5 separate regions of the Homo sapiens genome follow, and all the other regions are linked to region 3. The links are contacts of gene promoters, found by promoter capture Hi-C in blood cells and fetal thymus (Javierre and others, 2016). All regions are on one chromosome and are shown on one strand. Each heading gives the region's core, a stretch centred on a gene start or on the middle of the fragment in contact. The rest is flanking DNA. Distances are from core to core; before and after follow the strand shown.

Region 1 (4,533 bases), core at 1,388-3,887, 1.5 Mb before region 3:
GTACCAAGTGAATGACGCTGCCTTTTCATTTCTCCTGTGTTGAGGCCTTATTTTATAAAATTCGTAACTGCTAGGGTACAAACTACAAACAAGACGAATTTTTAGAGGAACAACTTGAAGGGTGATGGGGGAAGGTGGTGCTTTCTTAGACCAATGCGAAGGGAGAGGGAGATGCAATATCTATATTTAATCTCTGTTCCCAACGATGTATTTTAATTCCCATAGCTGTGTGTATACAATGCGTGGATACCAACGCCTCCAAGGACAACATCAAAATTTTATATGAGCTGAAGAATATACACATATAACAAAGGGAATGTTTTCTTCTTTACTTTCCCTGTGACAAAATGCCAGAAGGAATGGACAGTTTCTTTCTCCAGGGACTTACTAATTGATTTGTTTTTGTTTTTGTTTTTTTGAGGATTTGCATGGCAAGTGGAAGTAGAATCTTAAGGGGATAAAGGGCATTTATTCACAAGGGAATAAAAGTGAAGTTATCAATTTCTGAAAATTGGCATGTGAGGCCGGCATGCCAGAGAAACAAATTAGACCCCAAAAAAATTAAAACCTAATACTCTCAATGTAATAAGCATTGCTATTAGGTTAAATCTCTTTATTAGAGACAGGTAGGTTATCTGGCTATATTATTAGTTGCGACTTATTAGGCAGTTAGAAGTTAGTATTTATGTTACACTTTTACTATACTACTAGTCTTGTTTAAAATTTCTCCCTATATATTTCTCAGTTAATAGTTATACCGGCATATCCTCAGGCAGAAAAACAAGTTCTTACAATGGATCCTTCAGGGCACACTATATTCTATTTCTCTTAGCTGTGTTATCTTTCGTTGTCTTGAGGTTCACTTCAAGATAGACAGAAAATGATGAAGCTAAAGTTAACAAGCAAGTAGCAAGACCTTAGAAAGCTATAGGGTGGGTGATCACCAACACTCCCAGCCATCATGAAAATGCTGCCCTAGTGGGCTCTGCTTCAGCCAGCAGTGGACCAGTGATATAAAGAATTCTTGCTTCTTAATGACTACATGGCAGTATTTGGCGTTCTTTCCATTACTTCTTGTCTTCAACTTATCCAGCCTGAAGTTTTAAGCATCCTAGAACTGCATTTCAGACCCAGTTGCTCAAATGGAGTCAATTTTGCAACAGTAAAATGGTCTTAAAATAGGATTTTACTCTAGGGGGAAGAATCCTCAACCAGATAGTCACAGTGCACTTTGAATGACTAATTTAAGCCATTACATTACGAAATAAGGGATAAATCATACTTTTCATAACACTACTGCATAGGAACAGTTTTAAGAGTCAAGCATCTACATTAATCTGAGTCTAAAATAATAGGCCCCTGATTTAAAGTCTCCTAACATTCTTTCACACTTCATAAAACTAAAAATAAAATTGTCTCACCAAACACCGACCTATTGGTCCGGCCAAAGTACTGTATTTCAAGGAAAATTGGAGCAAAGAGGTCTCAAAACCGCGACTTGCCAGCAAATTACAATTTGCAGCCTTAATTGGTCTCAAATGCGGGGTGAGAGGGAAGAGACTACGGTCTGTAGAAAATAAGAGATTTATTCCCCTTTTTAAATCAAAACCAGATTCCATGCTTCAGCCGCCCCCTAACCCGCCAGCCCCGCCCCCAGGGTTTGTTTTTCCATATTTTTGTATATATTTTAGCGAAGATGGCAGGTGAGGGAAGGTTATAGTGCTGTACCTAGTCCACGAAGTAAACAGAGAGGTTAGGGTGGGTTTACTTATTTATAAGGCGTTCAGCCTCTCAGCTGTTTCTCCCTCGTTGGCATTTGGAAGCTTGCAGTCCTTCAGGGAAGAGACAGATTTGGCAGGAACGTTCTTTGTGCCCGCCTCCCTTTTCTATTTTTTATTTTTTTACCTGGAATAGGGGGCAGATTTATAATGACAGCCTTAGGGAAGGGGGAGAAAAAGTTTCAGCCGGCACGACAATGCCCGTTTTTTCCACAGTCCACACTGTGCCACAAACAGCTTTGGTGCCACTCGGAGCCCGTCCCCCGTCCCCTCCCTCTCTCTCTGCAGGCTCGCACTGGCAGGCGGAGGCACAGTTAAATTCCAGCACCTTCTCCACATACCCCCGAACTACTACGCGCTATTACTACGGCTGCCCTCCGTTTTCGCTTCGCCTCCTCCCCTTCCGCAGTCTCCCTGGAGGAGCCCCGCGGCGCCCGAGGAAGAGGACTGCCAGGGAAGGGACAGCGGGCGCCCAGCTCCAGCAGGGCTTGGGGCTTTCTGCATCCCGCGCAGTTTCTCTGCTCCAGGCACAAACGCGGCCCGAGAGCCGGCGCCTTGCAGTCACACACGGATCCACGCATACAGTAGAGCTGTCTAGATCCACATTCTTGCACACCGCCCCCTCCTCCCCCCGCGCTCCCGGAGTCGCTGAGCTGAGCGAGTGACAGGCGCGTCCCGCCAACCCGCGCCCGGACGGGCAGGGAGGAGCGGCGCGCGGGGCCAACTGCGGCGCGTCTTCCGGCGCCCGCGGAGGAGGCGAGGGTGGGACGCTGGGCGGAGCCCGAGTTTAGGAAGAGGAGGGGACGGCTGTCATCAATGAAGTCATATTCATAATCTAGTCCTCTCTCCCTCTGTTTCTGTACTCTGGGTGACTCAGAGAGGGAAGAGATTCAGCCAGCACACTCCTCGCGAGCAAGGTAAATATAACTTACAACTCTTTTCTCCTCTTTCCCCTCCCTTCGGCCGCCCCGCTGCAGCCGCCGCTCAGACCCCTCCGGCACCACGCCGCCTTCGCCCGGGATTATCCATTATTATCCTAATTATTATTTATTGTGCATGCAAGGAGACCAAAACAAACAGGCGGGCCAACCGCCGCGACAAAAAAAAGCCCGCCTCCTCCCCGCGGGCCTCAGGTGGAATGCTCTAACGACAGCTCCCAGGCGGCGGTGGAAGAAACGAGAAAGTTTCAACCGAACCTTGCTGTTCTAATAATAACAGTAATAATTACTACTTCAAGGGGGCAAAGGAGGAAAAAAATCCCAACAAGCCACAGCCTTGATCCTGAGTGGGCAGTCAGAGGCGCTGCCAACTCAAGGTTGCAACACACACATTGGGCCAGGTTGCAATCCCCCCATCCCCTTAAAAGTGAGGCGGCGGGGAGGGGGGTGGCCGCAGGAGGGGGAAGGCCTGGGGGACAGGGGAGGAGGATGGAAACGCTACTGTTCATCCCGGGCAACCCTCCCCGGAAGAGTTGGAAGGGGAACGGGAAAGGAGGGCGGGGAGCCCAGGCTGGCGGCGGGGCGCCAACGGACGCTGTTGCCACCCGCTTCCCAGGGACTTGTTCAAAGGGCTCCGGCTGCGGAGACGTGAGCGGATCGCAGCGGGAGAAGCCTGAGCTGACGCGCGAAGGAGGTAGCGGCCACTGCCGCGGGGCCGGTGCGTGCCTGATCGGAGGTGTCACCTCCACTTTCCGCGTTTCCTCCGGCGTGGATGGGGAGGCTGATTGGTAGGCAGGCCTTTAGGCAAAGGGGCTGCCAGGGGGCTGCGCCCCGGGCGCTGCGGACGTCCCTGCCTCTGGTACCTGGCGGCAGCGCAGGCTCGGGTGTTAAAGTTCGGGATGTCCGGCCCGGGCCGCACTGCTGGAGGGAAGGGAGGAGGCCCCCAAGGAGGTCGGAGGTGCCCGCCAGCCTCCGTTACCCTGCCCTCCCTCTCCCCGGGTCCGTGTTCTTTTGCTTCGCGTCTTCCCCTTGCTTGCGCCGCGGGAGCTGCGGGCGTGGGGCGCCTGCGATCGTCCGGGTGCTAGGGGCGCGCCGGGACCCAGGAGAGCCACGGCGGCGGCTGCGGGCCCGGGAGGCCATGATCCGGATAATCCTGTCTGCCTGACTGTCACAAACAGGACCCGCGCACCACCGGGCAGCGGCGGTGTGGTTCGCCCGGGAAGGGGAAGGGCTGCGGTGGGGAGGGAATAGGGGGGTGGCGAGGGCGGGAGGCGGGGAGACCGGGTAGGAGCCTCCTCCCAACGATGACACGCACTCCTTCCTTCTCGCTCCCTGCTCAGGAGTTTGCTTTATTCCCATCCCAACCTGGTTTACCCCTTCCTTTGCTCTCCCCCTCCACCCGGCCGTCTTCCCTTCCTCCCGTTTGCGTTGCAAAACACGGCCATGCCATCTGCAAAGGTGTCGCGATGCACTTCCCTAAATAACCGGTCCGGCGCGCCAGCCCCTCGGCGCCCTCCGGCCGCAGGGCGCACACGGAGCACAGTGCTCCCGGTGCCCCGCACCAGGCCTCGCAGCCTGGGTGCAGTTACACGGCGGAGGGCGGGGCGCGGCAGTGCGGGCTCCGGCGGACACCCGCGCCTTGGCCGGGGCACTTGGGCCGGTTTCCGGTACACGCGGGGAAATCGCCTCCTGCCAGTGTCTGATCGCTCGCCTCCGCCTCCGCCTCTGCCGCCTGGATTGCATTATTATTTTTATCCGGGTTGCCGTTTGCTGCGGATGGTGGTGAGCGCGGGGCTGGCTGGGCTGCTTGGGGGGTG
Region 2 (3,214 bases), core at 715-3,214, 1.1 Mb after region 3:
TTCTCTTAAGCTCCTACAGACACTGACATTTTCCCCATCACCTCACTCCCTCACCTGTACCTCCCAACGCCAACATCCTCCCCTCTGCTCTCCTCACATTGGAAATTCCAACTCCCTCCCACGTCTCCACCAGGTGTCACAATCGCGCTCTCGCCGGCTCCTCTCCCCGCCCCTCCGGGATGGTAGTGCGGAAGCGGAAGAGGCTGCAGGGCCGGGAAGCCTCTGTTTGGTCCGGCCAGGTCCCGGGATCCGGGCCGCCAGCTGCGATGCCAAGTCCCCGGAGGAGCATGGAGGGACGGCCGCTGGGCGTCTCCGCTTCGAGCAGCAGCAGCAGCCCCGGCAGCCCAGCCCATGGCGGCGGTGGCGGCGGCAGCAGGTTTGAGTTCCAGTCCCTGCTCAGCAGCCGCGCCACGGCCGTGGACCCCACCTGCGCCCGGCTCCGTGCATCGGAGAGCCCAGTTCACCGCCGCGGCTCCTTCCCCCTGGCCGCGGCGGGCCCCTCGCAGTCGCCCGCGCCTCCGCTGCCCGAGGAGGACCGCATGGACTTGAACCCGTCCTTCCTGGGCATCGCCCTGCGCTCCCTGCTGGCCATCGACCTGTGGCTGTCCAAGAAGCTGGGGGTGTGCGCGGGAGAGAGCTCGTCGTGGGGCAGCGTGCGACCCCTTATGAAGCTGCTGGAGATCTCGGGACACGGCATCCCCTGGCTGCTGGGCACCCTCTACTGCCTGTGCAGGAGCGACAGCTGGGCCGGGCGCGAGGTGCTGATGAACCTGCTCTTCGCCCTGCTGTTGGACCTGCTGCTGGTGGCCTTGATCAAAGGGCTGGTCCGCAGGCGCCGCCCGGCCCACAACCAGATGGACATGTTTGTCACTCTCTCGGTGGACAAGTACTCCTTCCCCTCGGGCCATGCCACAAGGGCCGCCCTGATGTCGAGGTTCATCCTGAACCACCTGGTGCTGGCCATTCCACTGAGGGTGCTGGTGGTTCTGTGGGCCTTCGTCTTGGGCCTATCCAGGGTCATGCTGGGGCGGCACAATGTCACCGACGTAGCTTTTGGCTTTTTTCTGGGCTACATGCAGTACAGCATCGTGGACTATTGCTGGCTCTCACCCCATAATGCTCCGGTCCTCTTTTTACTGTGGAGTCAACGATGACACCATCTCATTGATTATGGCACCAGGAAGTCTGAAGGTTTCCACATTCGATGATGTCAACCTAAACCAGCAGCCATCCCGCTTGTCCCTCTTAGGCATTTCAGGCTTCCTTTGGGATTTCAGGTGTCCCATGATCTTGATGTGCTGCTAGGCTGGAGCACACACTGGCCATTACTGAACACAGCCATATTAGGGAAAGCAAAAAAACCCAAAAAATCCTCTATTGTATATTTATTCAACAACTGTTTATGTTTCCAGGACAACTGCAAAGAAAACAAGCTGAGGTGGTTATACTGTTGCTGTTAAAAGTTGGTATCAGTAAGATTTGTGTTTTGTGATAATCCCTAAATCAACATACCACTTGTAAACTGAACTTCGAGAAAGAAACATGATGTTCATTCTGTAAATATACATGCAGACAGGTCATGTACTAATCCTAGTCCTTTTCCTGAGGTAGATTTTAAACAGTATTTTTAAAGTCCAAGACATAGGTTTTTCTAGTTTATTCCCTGAAGATCTGTTGCCACAGTTGGGAGATTTCTTCTTAATCCTGATTTTCTTGGTAAGCTTTTTTACTTTATTATCTCTATAATTTATTATCTCTATCCATATTTGTGGATCGGGTAGTGGGAAAAGAGATTATAATACTTGTCTTTCTCTCCTCTCCCTCCATCCCTCAAAAGATCTTTATGCATTTCCCACTACTCCCTTACTGTCTTTTAGCATTCAGAGAAAAAGCCAACTTGCTTAAAGAGGAATCACTTAAAAGGTAGGCATATCTAAGATGCTCATAGAAGAGGAAGAATGGGACATGGCCCCATGCTTATTTTTGTTTACAACGTAACATGGCATGAGAGAGGGCAGAGAAACTAAGTTGCTGGGGAAAGTTAGAGGAACTGAAAGTTTGGGAATAGGCTGACCACATATTATGCCAGTGACCAGTATGACAGGAGATGGGGCCCTGCTGCCAGTCATCTCCACTGAATAAAGAATAATGCTCCTCTTTCAGGGTAATAAAGTGGGGAAAAGGAACGTCTTCTCAATGCAAGAACATAAGCTTTCTCGTATATACCTGTATGCTACAGTTTTTCACATGGAATTCCGTTTTCTGAGGTACAGCACATTTTAGGTAACAGTATTTAACTTGAAATTCATCATGGGAGTCTGCTGCTATACCAGGCACAAGATAAAACTCCAAAATTTCTGTTTACATTGACCTTTACATTTAAAGCTGTTCATCCATGGTGCCTCCCCAAATCATAAGACCAAAGACCACCAAACGCAGGGTGGACTCTGCTCATTATTCTTTGACCCAGAAAGACTGGAGAAGGTATGTGCTTTAAGTGCTGCTCTACCTGAAAAGAAATCCTTTAAATTACCTATGGAAGTGATGTCCTCAGATAATCTTAATGACTATTTTGGCATTTATAAATAGAAATGATTATGGACTTTGATCTGCCATACGGAGGTTCGGAACCTGGAGAACGGCTGTGATAAGTAGGTTTTGATTGAGTGAAAGCATGAGCTTGTTCAGAGTGAGGGGCATAGTGAAAAAGGAACAGCCATGCCTCAAAATCAAATCATTTGCATTCCCACAGCATCCTGAATACCGACTACCTCTTCACTTGCTAAAGCAGCTAAACTGTGAAGCTCTAAGTGGTTTGGGTTTGTTGTTTAACCTTAGCGAGATCCTTTAACTGCAGCAATATTCAAGCCAGATATTTGGAAGCAAATGATATTTCCTCTTGCAGTGTCCACAAATCTGAATATTAGGGGCATGAAATTAGGCTTACCATCTGATTTGTAATTACAATTTTGGAATTCTCTGTTTTAGTTGCTGAGGCCTGAGTTTTCTGGCTCTTAAAGCATAGATCATTTCACCTGATGTTTTTGAAGCATCCTAAGTACAGTAGAGTAGAAAACTGATTTCTTTGTTAATTGTACACTGAATAATGCCTTTTAAAAATCAAAATAAAATTAACAAATAATGGTGAATGAAGTGAGATGAAAACTTGCTTAATTTTTGCCTTGATGAGGAGGGAGACAGATTTATCACTTAG
Region 3 (4,724 bases), core at 1,601-4,100:
GACATACATTGAATCACAGACATTTGACTATTCAAAACAAGTTACAAGTGACTTCTATTTAATAGTTTTAGTTTCAAAGCATGATCACTTTTACAAATTTCTATTAGTATAAAAACTGAAAACACAAGAGAGTATCAATACATAACATAGTCCCTTCTAGGAAAAATATTAAGAAAGAATAAAGTAAATGCTAAGTATCTATCCTTGTGTTTAATTTTTAAATTTACCATTTCTCAGTGTTTCTGATTATTTAATCAATTCCACAGCAGCTCTAATAGCAATTTTATCCCACATATATGCTTCAAAAAATGGAAAAGTAATGAAATTCAATTTAAGTTCTGCTCTCAAATCAACTTGTGAATGAAAATCTAAATCACAGAAAACCTGAGCTATACATGAGTGAAATGCCTCAAAAAAAGTTCTCAGACACTGTAAATAAAATATTAAACCATAACATTATAGTATATAATTTACTTAACTGAAAACCTATTATGTAAATGGCATAAGGTCTGAAACTGTCCCAAGACAGCAAAACTCCTATTAACTTCAGAGAGAGTTTATAGGACCCAGGAGCTTCACCATCCAAAAGTGTTCAGGCATTTGACACTCATCTGAACAGAAAAAAAAATACAAGTTAGTATTAGAGATTTGCATGGAACCCAGTTTGGGGAGAGGAGGAATAATTATAAACAAATCTGAGTGCTCTGAGAAAGACTTCTTTCAGAACAAAATATCGTCTTCATTTAAAATAGCAATCACAAGGAAATGAATTGAAAAAGTTTTTTTAAAATCCCAACTCTTATTTTACAAAATATTAGCCTTAATAGCATTATAATTACCCACCCTGCTCGTTGACAATCTCAAGAATAATTAGTACTGTCACATTATTCACAAGCTGCTGTGTCAGTTAAATCAATATATGTTTGCTGTTAGAAAGAAGACTATTTGAATAAGCATTTTAAAACTGTAAATTTAAAACTTCAATATGTGCAACTACAATAGTACATTATATTTGTTTTAGCACACATTCATTATCAAAACTCTACTGATAAATCTATTAACTAAAAGTTAAGCTGAAAAAAATGAACAAATTTAGGGGATCTGTAAAACTGGGTTAACGTTAACCAAGAACCTACTATATAAGGACTAATAAGTATTCAAATCTACAGAGAAAAATAATTTTTAAAAGAAATACTTAAAAAGGAAAAAGTTCTCTCTCCTGAGCAGGTTCAAGTCACTGTCCAAAGAAAATCAAAAAGTAAATAAAAAGAATATGTTAAGTACACACATGCCTAGATCTTAACCAGAAAGAAAGTGAAATATACACACGTTTCAAGTTGAGAACCTTCATACATTCTTTATGAACTTGACTTGAATTTCAACTCTCAAAGGAAAATGAGGAGATTAAAAAAAAAAAAACTCTTAAAGTACCATAACTGTCACAAATAACACTGTGAACTGAGTTCTCACAAAGCTTCCTTGTGTCCCTTCCCTGTTCATCACAAAGTCTCATAATCACAATGAAAATTGTTAACACTCTACTGCGGGGAAGGAGGATCATCAAAGTGAAACGGAACCTCACTACTCCCCCTCCCACCTCCACATGAAGGATAAAGCACTGTCAATAACTACTAACCCAAGTATCACAGATGCCCTGCATCCGGTTTAAATCACAAGCACACACACACACACACACACACACACACACACACACACACACACACACACCAAAGAAGAGAGAGGAGACAGACTTTAAAAAAGAAAAACATCTTTCCCAGTACAGCAAAGAGGGCCCAACGAACAGGCCCCAGGTTTCAATATGTGTGCAAGGGGTGTGTGGGGGGGGGGAGAAAGAGGGGGAGGGAAGAGTGCTGAATGGATGTTAAGACTGTTTGCCGCACAAAGAAAATACAGTTTTAAAAAGAAAAAAGAAAACCATGAAGCTGATGATGGTGAAAGAAGAGCAGCCCATTCAGCACCAGGCAAAGAGGGGCAAAAATGAAGGGAATGGGCGGTGGGAAAAGTTCACCAACGTATGAGGATTAAAAATAACAAAACCCATAACAAGGCCCCACAAGTGAACAACAACAACAACAAAACACCACCTCTTGGGTCCCCCCCTTGCACACTGTTGTCTATTTCGGCTTTGAAAGAAGCAGGAAACAGCAGCGTTGGAAAAGAAGAAAATTAAAGAAAGAACAAATTCTTATCTCTTCACCTGACCCTCCTCCTCAGACCAGACCTAAGGGAAAGATCCAGCATCCGCATCGGAAAACTGTGGCTCCCTCTCCCGCTCGGCTCGCAGCCCCCCAAGCTCCCGCTCCATCCCTGAAGTGCGGCCGGCGCAGGGCCGGGGCCGGCGGGCGGCGCGGCGCCCACACCCCCGACCCAGCCGCGGCGCGCAGGGTCCATTGTAAACAAGCCCGGGGAACAGAGCCCCTCGGCGGCGGCGCCGCAGCGGCAGCCCCCGTGTCAGGAGTGAGACCCCAGCACAGCCACACTCGGCTCGCACACACGAACACACACACGCACGGACACACGCGTTCACACGCAGCCACACGCTCCCACACACATGTAGAGACCGAAGAATATTCACCTTGGCTGTGGATTATTGTGGTGTTGTTGGTGGGTGATGGAGATGGTGGTGGTGGGGAGGAGGAGGAGGAAGAGGAGGAGGAGGAGGAGAGGAGTAGTTGTTGTTGATGGGTAACAGTCGCCAGGACTACGGTGACTATGGCGCTTGATTCACAAGGCAACGGTTGCTATAACTCACAAAAGAGAGAGAGAGAGGGAGAGAGAGAGAGAGCGAGAGGGAGAGGGAGACACTCGCACGGGGAGGGGTGGGGGAGGGAAGAGGGGAGGAGGCGGGCCCGGCCAAGCCGCCGGAAGGGGAGGGCGCAGCGCTGTGACTGACGGCCCCCAAACCCGGGTGGGGTGGCGGGGCGGCGGGGTGACGGGGCACGAGGCCGGGATTCCACCGCAGGACTCCGAAGAGGTGCGCCTATGCTTGGCTGGGGCTGAGGTCACCAAGAGTCCTCTCGGAGGGACGTTACTACACGCGCTGGCGAGGCCCAGGAGTCGTGGTGCGAGGGGTACTATCTGTGAAACGAGGGCTGCCTGTCCCAGCAGCCAGCTTTGTACAGAGACGTCCCGGAGCCACGAGAGAGTAACGGCTAACCCGGGGGAGGGGGTGGCGAGGGTGATTCCAGGCACTTTGTGAAGAAACGAGCTATGGCGAGGGAAGAATCCACTTTGAAGAGCGGCCCCCGCCCTGCCCGATACGTTACTTCCGGGGCGGGGCGGGCAGAGGGGCCCGGATGTGCCGCCGCTTTTTAGTTTCTGAGGCGCCGGCGGTGTTCCTGGTAGCGTCAGCCTCCTGGCTTTTCCTTTTCCTGGACGCTTCAGGGCTCCGCGGCCTGCGCTAGACTGGAGGGTCCGCGTCACTCTCGCCCTCCTGCTTTCCGCGCTCTCACCCGCTCCCGCCTCCTGAGGGCACGACTTGTGGAGGAGCGCGGGCGGCGGGGCGTGAGCGAGCTGCCTCTGCCGCCATCTTAGAGAAGGCGAGCGTGGGGTGTGCGTGGGCGCGAGTCGGCCTCCCGCGGTGCCGCCGCAGCGTGGCGCGGAGAGGTGAGGTCCAAGCGTGTCCGGCCCTCACTCCATAACGAAAAAGCGAGGTCATCACTCCCTATCTACAAGGGATGGGAGTAAGTGCCTGTAGAGAGCAAGAAATTGCCCTGCCCGGAGGCTGAGAAAGCGCATTTGGCGGTTCCCCTCGACGGAAGGCGTAGAGGGGCGGGGTAGCTTACACCTGCCTGCGATACCATCCTGTTAGTTTCTAGTTCTGTTAGTTTCAGCCCTTAAGTGCTCACCCCTCTTTAAAGACCGAACTGGGAGTTGAGCTCAAGCCCGGATCCTGTTACCTGCCGTGCTCTCATCCCCCGTTACTCAGCCTACTGTAGCTGAGGGTCTTGCTGTTTGTGGCTGTATTGAGATAGACGAATGGCTTCCGTCTGTGTTGAATGTTGTTAACACAACCTGCCATCTCAAACACCCGTTGATAAGGCACAGCCTGTAATGCCTCATGGTTCAAACAGACTCCTCCAATTCTCTGCAGACTCGAGTCCAGCAGGCACATGCCCCCAGGCCCTGCCAATACCCAAAATCTCCCAACATTTGCCGCTAAGCTGCTTAACCAGGACAATGACATAGTAGAAGTAGAGCCTTAGGAAGTCAGTTCTCCTCTTGAGGCTTAATTTTTGCACCTGCAAGTAAGGGATTTGGGCCGGCATGCGTTCACCAGCGCTAAAATAATACTGAGCTCATTCTGTGTCCCAGAACTGGTGCTAAGTGTTTTACATACATTATCTCATGTAATCCCAACAACACCAGTGTTAGGTAATATTCGCATTTGAGGAAAAACAGGCCGAGAGTCCTAAAAGTCGGTGGTTTTAGTTTATGGCTGCGTGCCATAGAATACAAGGTTACCTTGTTTTAGGAACCAGCTACTTTGGGTACGTTTTTAAAAGTAATATTGTTGCCTTTGATAATCTCATGAGTTAGAGATGTTCTTACAATAATAATGTGTTGCAGTAGTGAACAGTGGTGAGCCTAGTGCTAAAGCTAAAAGGTTTCCTGACCCACTGTGGTAGTAAGGGCTTCTAGTCAGACAAATGATTGTGTGGTGACCAGTGTGGGTCCCATTTGACATACAGATGGGAAATGAG
Region 4 (4,773 bases), core at 397-2,896, 1.1 Mb after region 3:
GATTTTCTTAGGAGCCTCTGCAAACCAAGACCCCATGAAACATGCCCATAAAATATGCTCCAGGCTTTGACAGATCTGCAACCATAAAAATCAAGAAAGGAATTATAAACTGAAGCAAGACAGATGGGAATTCTTTTTATGATGTTTAATGACACAGATCTTCCCAAAGTAATCCAAACCCCAAAACATCACAAAATTATTCATACTATTATACACTCCAAAAGCAAAATACTTCAACTGCAATCCTTGCCCCAGCATGATTCCTCAAAATTGAGATAACTCCTTGAGAAACAAAAGTAAAAATAATAATAATTTAAGGAATAGAGTTAATAGATGCAAAAGTAAAGGGAAAAAAAGCGTAATTTAGTGTGAAAACCAAAAATGACTTTAAATAAGAATGGGCATTTAAGATCTTATTAAAGAGTTATGCTTAAACCATTTCAAAAAACACTGAATATTGAATGTCATGGTGTATATTTTAACAATAACTGAAATGGGATACCAATTCATTAGTGCTGCTTTCCTTTAGCTGCTTACGTAAGCAGCCCTCTCCTGAGACTTATAGCGTAACCTTAATGTAACACAATATTTTCTTACTTTTGATGACTACTTAGAGGTAACATCAAAACAACAAATTGACAACCATAGTTTCAGAGAGACTGAGAACATATTAGCATATGTAATTTAAGCTTGCTGTTGGCCTTGCCAAGGTGGAATGCTGGTTGTGATACAGGTTGAGTCTCCCTTATCTTCAGTGCTTGGGACTGACCAGAAGTATTTTAAACTTGGGTTTTGGTTTTTGTTTTTGTATTTTGGAATATTTACATAAACACAATGAAGTATCTTCAGGATAGGGGATAGGACCCAAGTCTAAACACGAAATTCATTTACGTTTTATATACACTTTATACAGGTAGCCTGAAGGTAATTTTATACATGATTTTAAATAATTTGGAGCATGAAACAAAGTTTCGAATGCATTTGACTGCACCCTGCCACATGCAGTCAGATGTGGAATTTTTCACTTATGGTGTTATATTGGTGCTCAAAAAGTTTTGGATTTTGGAGCATTTCAGATTTCAGATTTTTAGATTGGGAGGTTCAACTTGGATATACCTTTATTTGGCTGAAATTCTAAGAAGAGGATAAATGAATTTTGTTTTGTTGTTTTTGTTTTTGGAGTTCCTTTTCTGTTTTAATTTTTAATTTCATTTTCTTAATTTACCTAATGAACCAATCCCTATGATTACAGTGAGAAAAGAAAACTTGGCTCTCACTGAATCTTCTAAAAACTGAACAAGTTTTAGGGTAGTGTCTTACTCTATTCAGGCTGCTATAACAAAATGTCATAAACTGGGTAGCTTACAAACTACAGGAATTCATTTCTCACAGTTCTGGAAGCTGGGAAGTCCAAGATCAGAATGTTGGCAGATGCAGAATCTGGTGAGGGCCCTCTTCCTGGGTCAGAGATGGCGCCTTCTCGCTGTCTCCTCGCCAGTGGAAGGGGCAAACGAGCTCCCTTGAGCCTATTTATAGGGCACTAATCTCATTTATGAGGGGTCCACCCTCACAACCTCATCACCTCCCAAAAGGCCCCATTTCCTTAGAGGTTAGGATTTCAACATACAAATGTTGAGGGGACACAAACATTCACACTATAGTAGGGCTGGTAGAGGAAAATGCTATGCTTACACTATGAAGGAGGGAAATAAGTTTCCATTTTCAGGCCCCTCTTCTCTGGGTCTGTATCAATGAAGACAAATGTGCCTCTAGTCTCCCTTTATCCCAGCCCCTTCCTATTCCTGCTCCCTCACACTGTGTAAGCATTTCATAGATGCACCTTCCTAACTAACTTTAAAACCTGGCATTGGCAGTCCTATCTGTAGAACCTATTTACTTAATGTGTAGTTCTTTTGGAGAAATATTTGAGGAAGGTTTTGTTCCTCATCTAAATTTACAAAGAATTGCTGGAACGAAGGAGTAGGAAACAGAAGGAGCAGTTTAAACTACGCTCCAGAGGAGCCAGCCTCCTCTTACAAATTTATCACAGACATTCAACATCTAAAACAAGATCTGAACTACCCAGACGTAATGCTCTCTTTTCCAAGGTTTTTAGTGGACTTCACGTAAATCAAGCCTAACACTAAGAAATAAACAAACAACAACAAAAACGGATCTACCGAAAAGAGAAAGTCAGGTTGATAGTCTTTCCTGGAGGATTTATCAGGTTATTCCTGTGAATAGCAACTTCCTCTAGCTCATATATAATTAATTTGAGAGAGAGAGACAGAGAGAGCCAGAGAGAGCCAGAGAGAGAGAGAGGGGAAGTGTTCAGATAAGCACCTGCCACCCAACTACAGCGCTTTCTCTTTCATGTTCAAAACAAACATGCAAAAACACAAATTTTCCAGCTTGACAAGAAAATGTTAGCCCCCAAACAGCAAACACTTTAATCAACAACTCTTACCTGGGCACAAAAGACTGAGTACAGGGTTTGGTTTAAAGGGGATTAGACATCAGTGACTCAACACAGACAACAAAAAGTGTTCATTTCTTTAAGGATGCTTCAATTGTCTCAGTGAGTGAGCTCTTCATGATTCTCCTTAAGCTTTCATTAATTTCCCCTGCAAAATTTGAAACATCACATTCTACATGTGGTATTGAGAAAAAGGCAAACAATCAATACAAGTAAGGAGAAAAAGATAATGTCATACTACCCCAATCTTGGCATGTAGCTATGCCTTGGGATCACTTAGTCTCTGAGCTTTTTCCCCAGATTCCCACAACAGAATAACCCAGTGAGCATCTGTGTGACCTTGGACAATTTACTTGACGTCTTTGTAAAATATCAGGATGATGACAGAGTATCTACCTCTTACTATTATAGTGAAGAGTTAGCATTGCTACATAGTAAATGTGCCAAAATAGGTGTTATTCAGTTGAGCTGTTAAACGTGTTCCAATTAACTATATTCTACTGAACAAATTTCCTTCCTTCCTTCCCTTCCCTCCTTCCTCCCTTCCTTCCTTCCCTCCCTCACTCCCTTCTTTCTTCCTTTCTTTCCTTTCTTTTTGATGGAGTCTTGCTCTGTAATTTGGCACTGCACACTGGGGGCCGGGATTTCACGGCAATTATGCCTTCCAAGAGAACTAGGGATAATCTGAGGGGTTTCTTTACGGGAGGTTTTTTTTTTTGTTTGGTTTTTTGGATGTTTGGTTTTTGTGTGGTAAAATTCACCAATTTTAAATATACAAGGGATACTCTGTTTATACCAAAAGTACCAAGTCCCAAAAGATCCAGAAATAGATGTATTCCAACCCCTTCAACCCATTTCTTCCACCCATTCTCTCCCTCTACGTGGTCAGACAATGGGACTCATTGTTTTTGGCTCAAGAATCCCTGACCTTTTTGTGGTAAGAATCTACTTTTTCATCTCCCTGAGATCTCGAGATCGCTGGGGAGCCAGGACCTGGCAGTGAAACAGATATGGAGAAGGGGAGGGACAGGAATTGGTGCTGCCATTAGAAGAGAGTCCTCAAGAAAAGCCGGGACTGGGACACGTAGTGGGAGCCACTGGGTTGTGTGTGGGGGATGCCTCCTGCCTGGGGTCTGTCCTCCCAACCCACAGGAGTGGCTCTGGCTGTCCTGTTCTAGCTATTTGATCTTGCCTGTTTGGATCTTTCCTGGACTCACTGAGATGGATGCTCAGCATCTTTCAAATAAATGCCCCGTTTGCTTAAGACTAGCCAGAGTCACTTGGGTTTTTCACAATCACTAAAGCTTCACTAAAATGACCCTCCAGGATCCCAGCCTCTCCAGGAATCCATGACTCAAGAAGCGGGGTCAGGGAGGATGGTATGGAGACTTCCAGAGAAGGTATTCTAAGCGTATGCCAAACTACTGGGTGGGAATTCCTGTTGTGTGGGAAACCTATTTTCCAAGAAAGAATTGACGTTTTTTTTTTTTCTTTTCTTACCTTCTCTCTATCCCCCCACATCAATGTCCACATATCAGCTGGTTCAGGGCTCTATGTAACTTGATATTACCCATGTTGAAATTCAATGTAATTTGGCATTTGATAATCATGTGGGCTATGTTCCGTATAACCACCTAAATAATTGCCTAGACGGCAATTATTTTGGTAACCAGAGAGTAAATGGCCCAGAATCCGTCCTTTAATCTAGCAAGCAGAACGTTCTAAGGTAGAAGCCTCCAGAATGGGCCATTACTGAGCTGTCCTGCACATTCCTCTGTGCTAAAGGTGGGGAGCCCTGGCCATTCCTAAGGCAAGCCAACTTGTTCTGTAAAGCATGCATGACCCTCAAAACAGACTTTCAGGAGCCTGACTACAGTGAAAACTTAGCAGGTCATCCCACACTCCTTTATTGTTTAGAAAGACGCATAATTATTCTGATCCTGCTGACATGAGGACTATACAGGACAAAGCTATAGGATCCTAGTGGGAGCCTTCCAAAGGCCAATGCCCACGAACTCTGCTTGGGTTCCAAAGGGCCCTCCTTCACACATGGGGAGACATGGATTTCCATGTAAGATTACACTCTAGCTTTGAAAATGCAATAGAATGTAGTGGTTAAGAGAATAAAGCTCCACCATTCACTAGCCATGTCACCTTGAGCAAGGGACCTAACCTATGCCTCAGTTTTCCTATCTGTAAGATGGAACTAATGATAGTACCTATCTCATTGGGTTGTCCTGAGAATTAGATATGAATTTGTTTAATACATGTGAAGTATGTGTACTAGTCTCAGCACT
Region 5 (4,599 bases), core at 1,063-3,562, 1.2 Mb after region 3:
CTACTTTAGAGTTCCTTTAATGCAACTACCTTCTTTTTATAAATGAAGAAACTAAGTGGAAAAATAAGTAGAGTGACTTGATAACTTAGTGGTGGGTTAAATGTGAGAAATTCCTGACTCTGGGATTGAGAGATAAGATAAAGAGAAGTGTTGAATATCCTTTATTAAGTGCCTTTAAGAATGAAGGCTTAGACTTTTAAAATCTCATGTTTTTCAAACTTCAGGGTTTTATACCTCAGTTTTCCATTTGAAAACTAGAGTTTTTAGCGATTGATTTTCAAATGCATGAAAAGGGGAGAAAAGGCAAAACTTCATGAACTAGTATTTTAAATGTGGAATAAAATGATATTTATTGAAAAATAGGCCAGGCTTAGTTGTCCACACCTGTAATCCCAGCGCTTTGGGAGGCCAAGGCAGGCAGATCACTTAAGTCCAGGAGTTCAAAACCAGTTTGGTTGACATGATGAAACCCTGTCTCTATAAAAAATACGAAAATTAGCTGAGTATGATGGCATGTGCCTGTATTGCCTTAGTCCCAGCTACTTCGGAGGCTGAGGCTTGAGGATTACTTGAACCCAGGAGGTAGAGGTTGCAGTGAACCGAGATCGTGCCACTACACTCCAGCCTGGGCAACAGTGAAACACATCTCAAACTTCTTAATTGTCCTCTTGGCATCTGCTTTCACCCACTCTCATGAACTTTTTTAATTGCCTTTCCCTGGACCAGCTCTAGTTCTGCTACAGCAGTCAGTAACACACACAGATAAGTGTACATCGCCACTAGCCCTATCAGTACTTTAACAGTGAGTCATATCTTTCTCGACTTTCTCTGTGCCTGTACTAATTTATATATACTTTTTCTCCCCCTCCACAATGGGATCATTCTTTATCTGAGTCATTTGCTATATCTGTATATATTGTTTTAAGGGGTGCATCTTGTGTTATTTTCTGTTCTGCATTTATATCCCAAAACTATTGAAAATAATTTTTTTTCTTCCAGAAGGAATGTTCAAAGTAATATTTCTTGTTTTGTAAAGTTAATGTCTCTTCTTTAACACAGTGGTCACAAAGAAAATATTTTCATTTTGTCTCTGCTTTTAATTATTTCTTTAAACTTAGGTTCTAAGGTTCTAAGACAGCCTACATTTATCTCACAAATTAATTAGGACTATCTTTATGTTCCAGTCATTTGCTCAAAATCCTACACTGGTTTTGTCTGGGAGCTTGAGACTTGAGAGGACTGGTCTAGATCTGCACTATCCAACTTGATAGCCACTAGCCACATGTGCTATTGAGTGCTTGAAATGTGGCTAGTCCGAATTGAGATGTGCTGTAAGTGTAAAATACACACCAGATTCCAATGATGTAGTGCCAAAAAAAGTAAAATATTAATAATTGTTTTGTATTGCTTACATGTTGAAATGATAATAGGCTGGATATGTTAAGATAAATAAAATAATTTATTAATGTCATCTGTTTCTTTTTGCTTTTTAACGTGGCTAATAGAAAACTTTAAATTACATTTGTGACTTGGATTGTATTTCTATTGGACAGTGCTGGTCTAGATGTCAGACTGCATGAAGAAAAAATCTTTTATTTTGAAATATGTAAACTTTTGAGTGCTTCCTGATTATAAACTGGCAGTGATCTAGTTTGCAATTTTTATTTTTGGCAGTGATGATAACGGGGTATAAATATGATCACAGAATGTTCTAAGAAACTTCTGCCAGTTTTTCTAGCTAGATACAAACTTTATTCTTGGTATATTTTATGACTTATTTAACTGAAAATAAGTACTTCCTTAATAGAAATTTGTACTTGACTTTAAAAATCAAACTGTTTGGTCTCTTCTAAGAAGTTTATTAGAAATGCAACAAAGGGCCAGGCACAGTGGCTCATGCCTATAATCCCAGCACGTTGGAAGGCCAAGGTGAAGGGATTGCTTGAACCCACGAGTTCAAGACCAGCCTGGGCAACATAGCAAGACCACGTCTCTACAAAAAATTTAAAAATTAGCTGGGTATGGTGGCTCACACCTGTAGTCCCAGCTACTCTGGAGGCTAAGGTGGGAGGATCACTTGACCCCAAGAGGTTGAGGCTGCAGTGAGCTATGATTGTGCCACTGTACTCCAGCCTGGGTGACAGAGCAAGACCCCATCTCAAAAAAAAAAAAAAAAAAAAAAAGACACGCAACAACAACAGTCTATTTCTTGTTTATGTCTTAATAAAGAATTTACGGTAAATATCATTTATTCTCTATGTGCTTTGAATTTCTGAGTTTATTTCCAGCAAGAACTCGAAAGATTAGGCAAGAGTTGCAAATATTTATAGGAATTAAATAATGCACAAGTAAACTATGCATATAAAATATAAAGGATGTTTCTATACCTGCTTTTAATTGGGAAATTCAGCTTACCAAAAAGGTTAATTCAGTTGTTTTTCTGTATGATTTCTAAGATGAACCTATATCCACACATATATCGTATGTATTTTTTTGTGAGATGGAGTCTTGTTCTGTCGCCTGGGCTGGAGTGCAGTGGCATGATCTCAGCTCACTACAACCTCTGCCTCCTGGGTTCACGCAAGATTCTCCTGCCTCAGCCTCCCGAGTAGCCGGGATTACAGGCATCCACCACCATGCCCAGCTATTTTTTGTATTTTTAGTAGAGACGGGGTTTCACTATGTTGGCCAGGCTGGTCTTGAACTCCTGACCTCGTGATCCACCCGCCTCGGCCTCCCAAAGTGCTGGGATTACAGGCGTGAGCCACCACACCCGGCCTCATACATCATTTTAAACAAAATTAATAAGACTCCCATACAAGAAAATTTTAATTTTTAAAAATAGTTTACCAGATGAATTTAATCATGTAATATCAGTATGATACTATACCACATATATTGTCTATAGGAAGAATTGCTAGATATTCAGTATCTGAGAAAGAAGATTCAATTAGAATTTAAAATCTGATTTAAATTTCTAAAATTTTTTCTTAGAGTTTTATTAATCAAGATAAAAGAAAAGACACAGAAGATGAAGATAAATCAGAATCATTTATGCAAAAATATGAGCAAAAAATCAGACATTTTGGTAAGTCTACTACTTGGATTTCCTTCTTTGTAATGTTTGGTATCATATGTACATGTGCAAAAAATGGATTTATAAAAAGAGAGCCAAAAAGAAAAGTGGCAAACTCCAATTTTGTAGCTTCTGGCACAGCTGTATAGATCTTGTTTTAGAATTTTTTTTTTTTTTGGTTATAAATAAAATTAATTGACAGAGCAAACCAAATGGTAAAGAGAAGCAAAAGTATTATTATATAGTGTACTACCTTTAAGACAACTTTATGTATTCCATAGCCTCTTTCCATTTCCTAAGTAGTCTTTGCTTTTTTCTTTTTCCTCTTTGCTTCCTTGGAATCTGATTATCTTATGTTTTAAAGATTATTCATTTTTTTTCAGGTTTTGGATATGATGCTTTATAATTCAGGCAGATCCTTGAACTGTTACTCAGATAAATATAGTAATAGAAATGTATATATAAAGAACTGAAAAATAGGTTTTTTCTATTGGGGAAAAAGGGTAAGAGGGGGGTTGATACAAGTGAAGGCTTCCCAGAGGAGCCAGCATCTGAGCTTGATTTCAAGGAACAGATAGGAGTTTTTCATGTATAAGGGAGGCAAGCCAACAGCAACAGCATGAGACGGGCAGTTAGGAAACAGCATGGTGTGTTCTGAGAATTATAGGCAGCATGATACCGCTGGCATGAAAATGCTGCTGGGAAGTGTTAGGAGTTAAGGTTTAAAACTTTTTTTTTTTTTAATTCCAAGTAGTATGTTAATTTAGTAAACATGGTTTTTATTTGTAATATGTTCATGAACTTTTTACATGGCATTTTGAAATCTTTTTCCTGTTGGTGTTTATTTACCCAACGTTTTTTGAATTTCGTTTATGCTTCAGTTATGTCAATATAATAAATATTACTTTAAATTTTTTCCCTTCCTTTTATGTAATTTATTCGTAAAATATTCACTTTGCTCATACTTTTCATTTTAAAGAAAGAAAAAAGACTGTGTTTAACTAAAAAATAGTACCCAAGGAAATAAAGACAAAGTTTTTCTACATATAATCAATGTGGTATTATTTATAATGGAAAAAAAATGAATACACAGGCCTCCCTTGGACAGATAGTAAAATCTTAAAATGAGCAGAGCCTTGAGTCATAAGGATAGAAAGCAAAAAATTTGCACATGAATCTTAGTTGTGATATGTGAATTGCCACTCCCGCCTACAGTCCTTGCTTTCTAGGCCCATGTTTTGCTGCTGAAGGAAAAATAGTACCATATACTGATTGCTCTTTCAGAGCATGTACTGCATCTGGTGAAACAACATTCCTCAAGGTGTTTTCACCCAGCTGGCACTCTGAAAGTTGGTTGCTTTGAAGCCATGAGAAACCTAGTAAATGAGAAGCAGTTCTTTCACTTTTGCTGTAAGCTGAGTGCCTTGTTCAGAAGCAATTTTGTGTAGGAAAATATCCAAATATCACAAAGTGTTGTAACCCATCTGGCACTATGTATCTTCAGCATTTTATAAAACCTGCTT

The links. Contacts are between HindIII fragments. The CHiCAGO score rates a contact against its expected background, and 5 or more counts as called.
Region 1: the fragment with the promoter of SMARCA2 here is called in contact with the fragment with the promoter of RFX3 in region 3 in 1 of 17 cell types (fetal thymus); the score reaches 5.0 in fetal thymus.
Region 2: a contact is called between a fragment that was not itself captured here and the fragment with the promoter of RFX3 in region 3, in 3 of 17 cell types (fetal thymus, naive CD4 T cells and non-activated CD4 T cells). The highest score is 8.8, in fetal thymus.
Region 4: a fragment that was not itself captured here is called in contact with the fragment with the promoter of RFX3 in region 3 in 2 of 17 cell types (naive CD4 T cells and non-activated CD4 T cells); the score reaches 5.9 in naive CD4 T cells.
Region 5: a contact is called between a fragment that was not itself captured here and the fragment with the promoter of RFX3 in region 3, in 1 of 17 cell types (naive CD8 T cells). The highest score is 6.5, in naive CD8 T cells.

The regions. Positions count from the first base shown.
Region 1 is chr9:2,012,710-2,017,242 of GRCh38, forward strand. It overlaps SMARCA2 (SWI/SNF related BAF chromatin remodeling complex subunit ATPase 2), which reads left to right and starts at 2,638. Exons shown (of 34, transcript NM_003070.5): 1 at 2,638-2,695. RefSeq lists enhancers at 2,138-2,187, 2,248-2,297, 3,084-3,640 and silencers at 2,348-2,687, 3,828-3,997, 4,298-4,407. The HindIII fragment of the contact is 4,329 bases long and covers 1,822-4,533 here.
Region 2 is chr9:4,662,110-4,665,323 of GRCh38, forward strand. All of the region lies in intron 1 of SPATA6L (spermatogenesis associated 6 like), which reads right to left. PLPP6 (phospholipid phosphatase 6) reads left to right here and starts at 185. Exons shown (of 1, transcript NM_203453.5): 1 at 185-3,149. The coding sequence starts at 267. The coding sequence ends at 1,154. RefSeq lists a silencer at 320-579. The HindIII fragment of the contact is 490 bases long and covers 1,720-2,209 here.
Region 3 is chr9:3,523,151-3,527,874 of GRCh38, forward strand. It overlaps RFX3 (regulatory factor X3), which reads right to left and starts at 2,851. Exons shown (of 17, transcript NM_001282116.2): 1 at 2,597-2,851. LOC124902110 (a long non-coding RNA gene) reads left to right here and starts at 3,335. Exons shown (of 8, transcript XR_007061398.1): 1 at 3,335-3,627. RefSeq lists enhancers at 1,992-2,608, 3,186-3,235, 3,496-3,795 and silencers at 2,296-2,385, 2,816-3,005. The HindIII fragment of the contact is 14,491 bases long and covers 1,473-4,724 here.
Region 4 is chr9:4,598,186-4,602,958 of GRCh38, forward strand. SPATA6L (spermatogenesis associated 6 like) reads right to left here. Exons shown (of 12, transcript NM_001353486.2): 12 at 131-2,624. Among named protein-coding and RNA genes, the nearest start is that of PLPP6, 62 kb to the right of the region's middle. The HindIII fragment of the contact is 1,919 bases long and covers 688-2,606 here.
Region 5 is chr9:4,685,519-4,690,117 of GRCh38, forward strand. CDC37L1 (cell division cycle 37 like 1, HSP90 cochaperone) reads left to right here. Exons shown (of 7, transcript NM_017913.4): 3 at 2,995-3,088. Among named protein-coding and RNA genes, the nearest start is that of CDC37L1, 8.2 kb to the left of the region's middle. The HindIII fragment of the contact is 6,570 bases long and covers 1-4,599 here.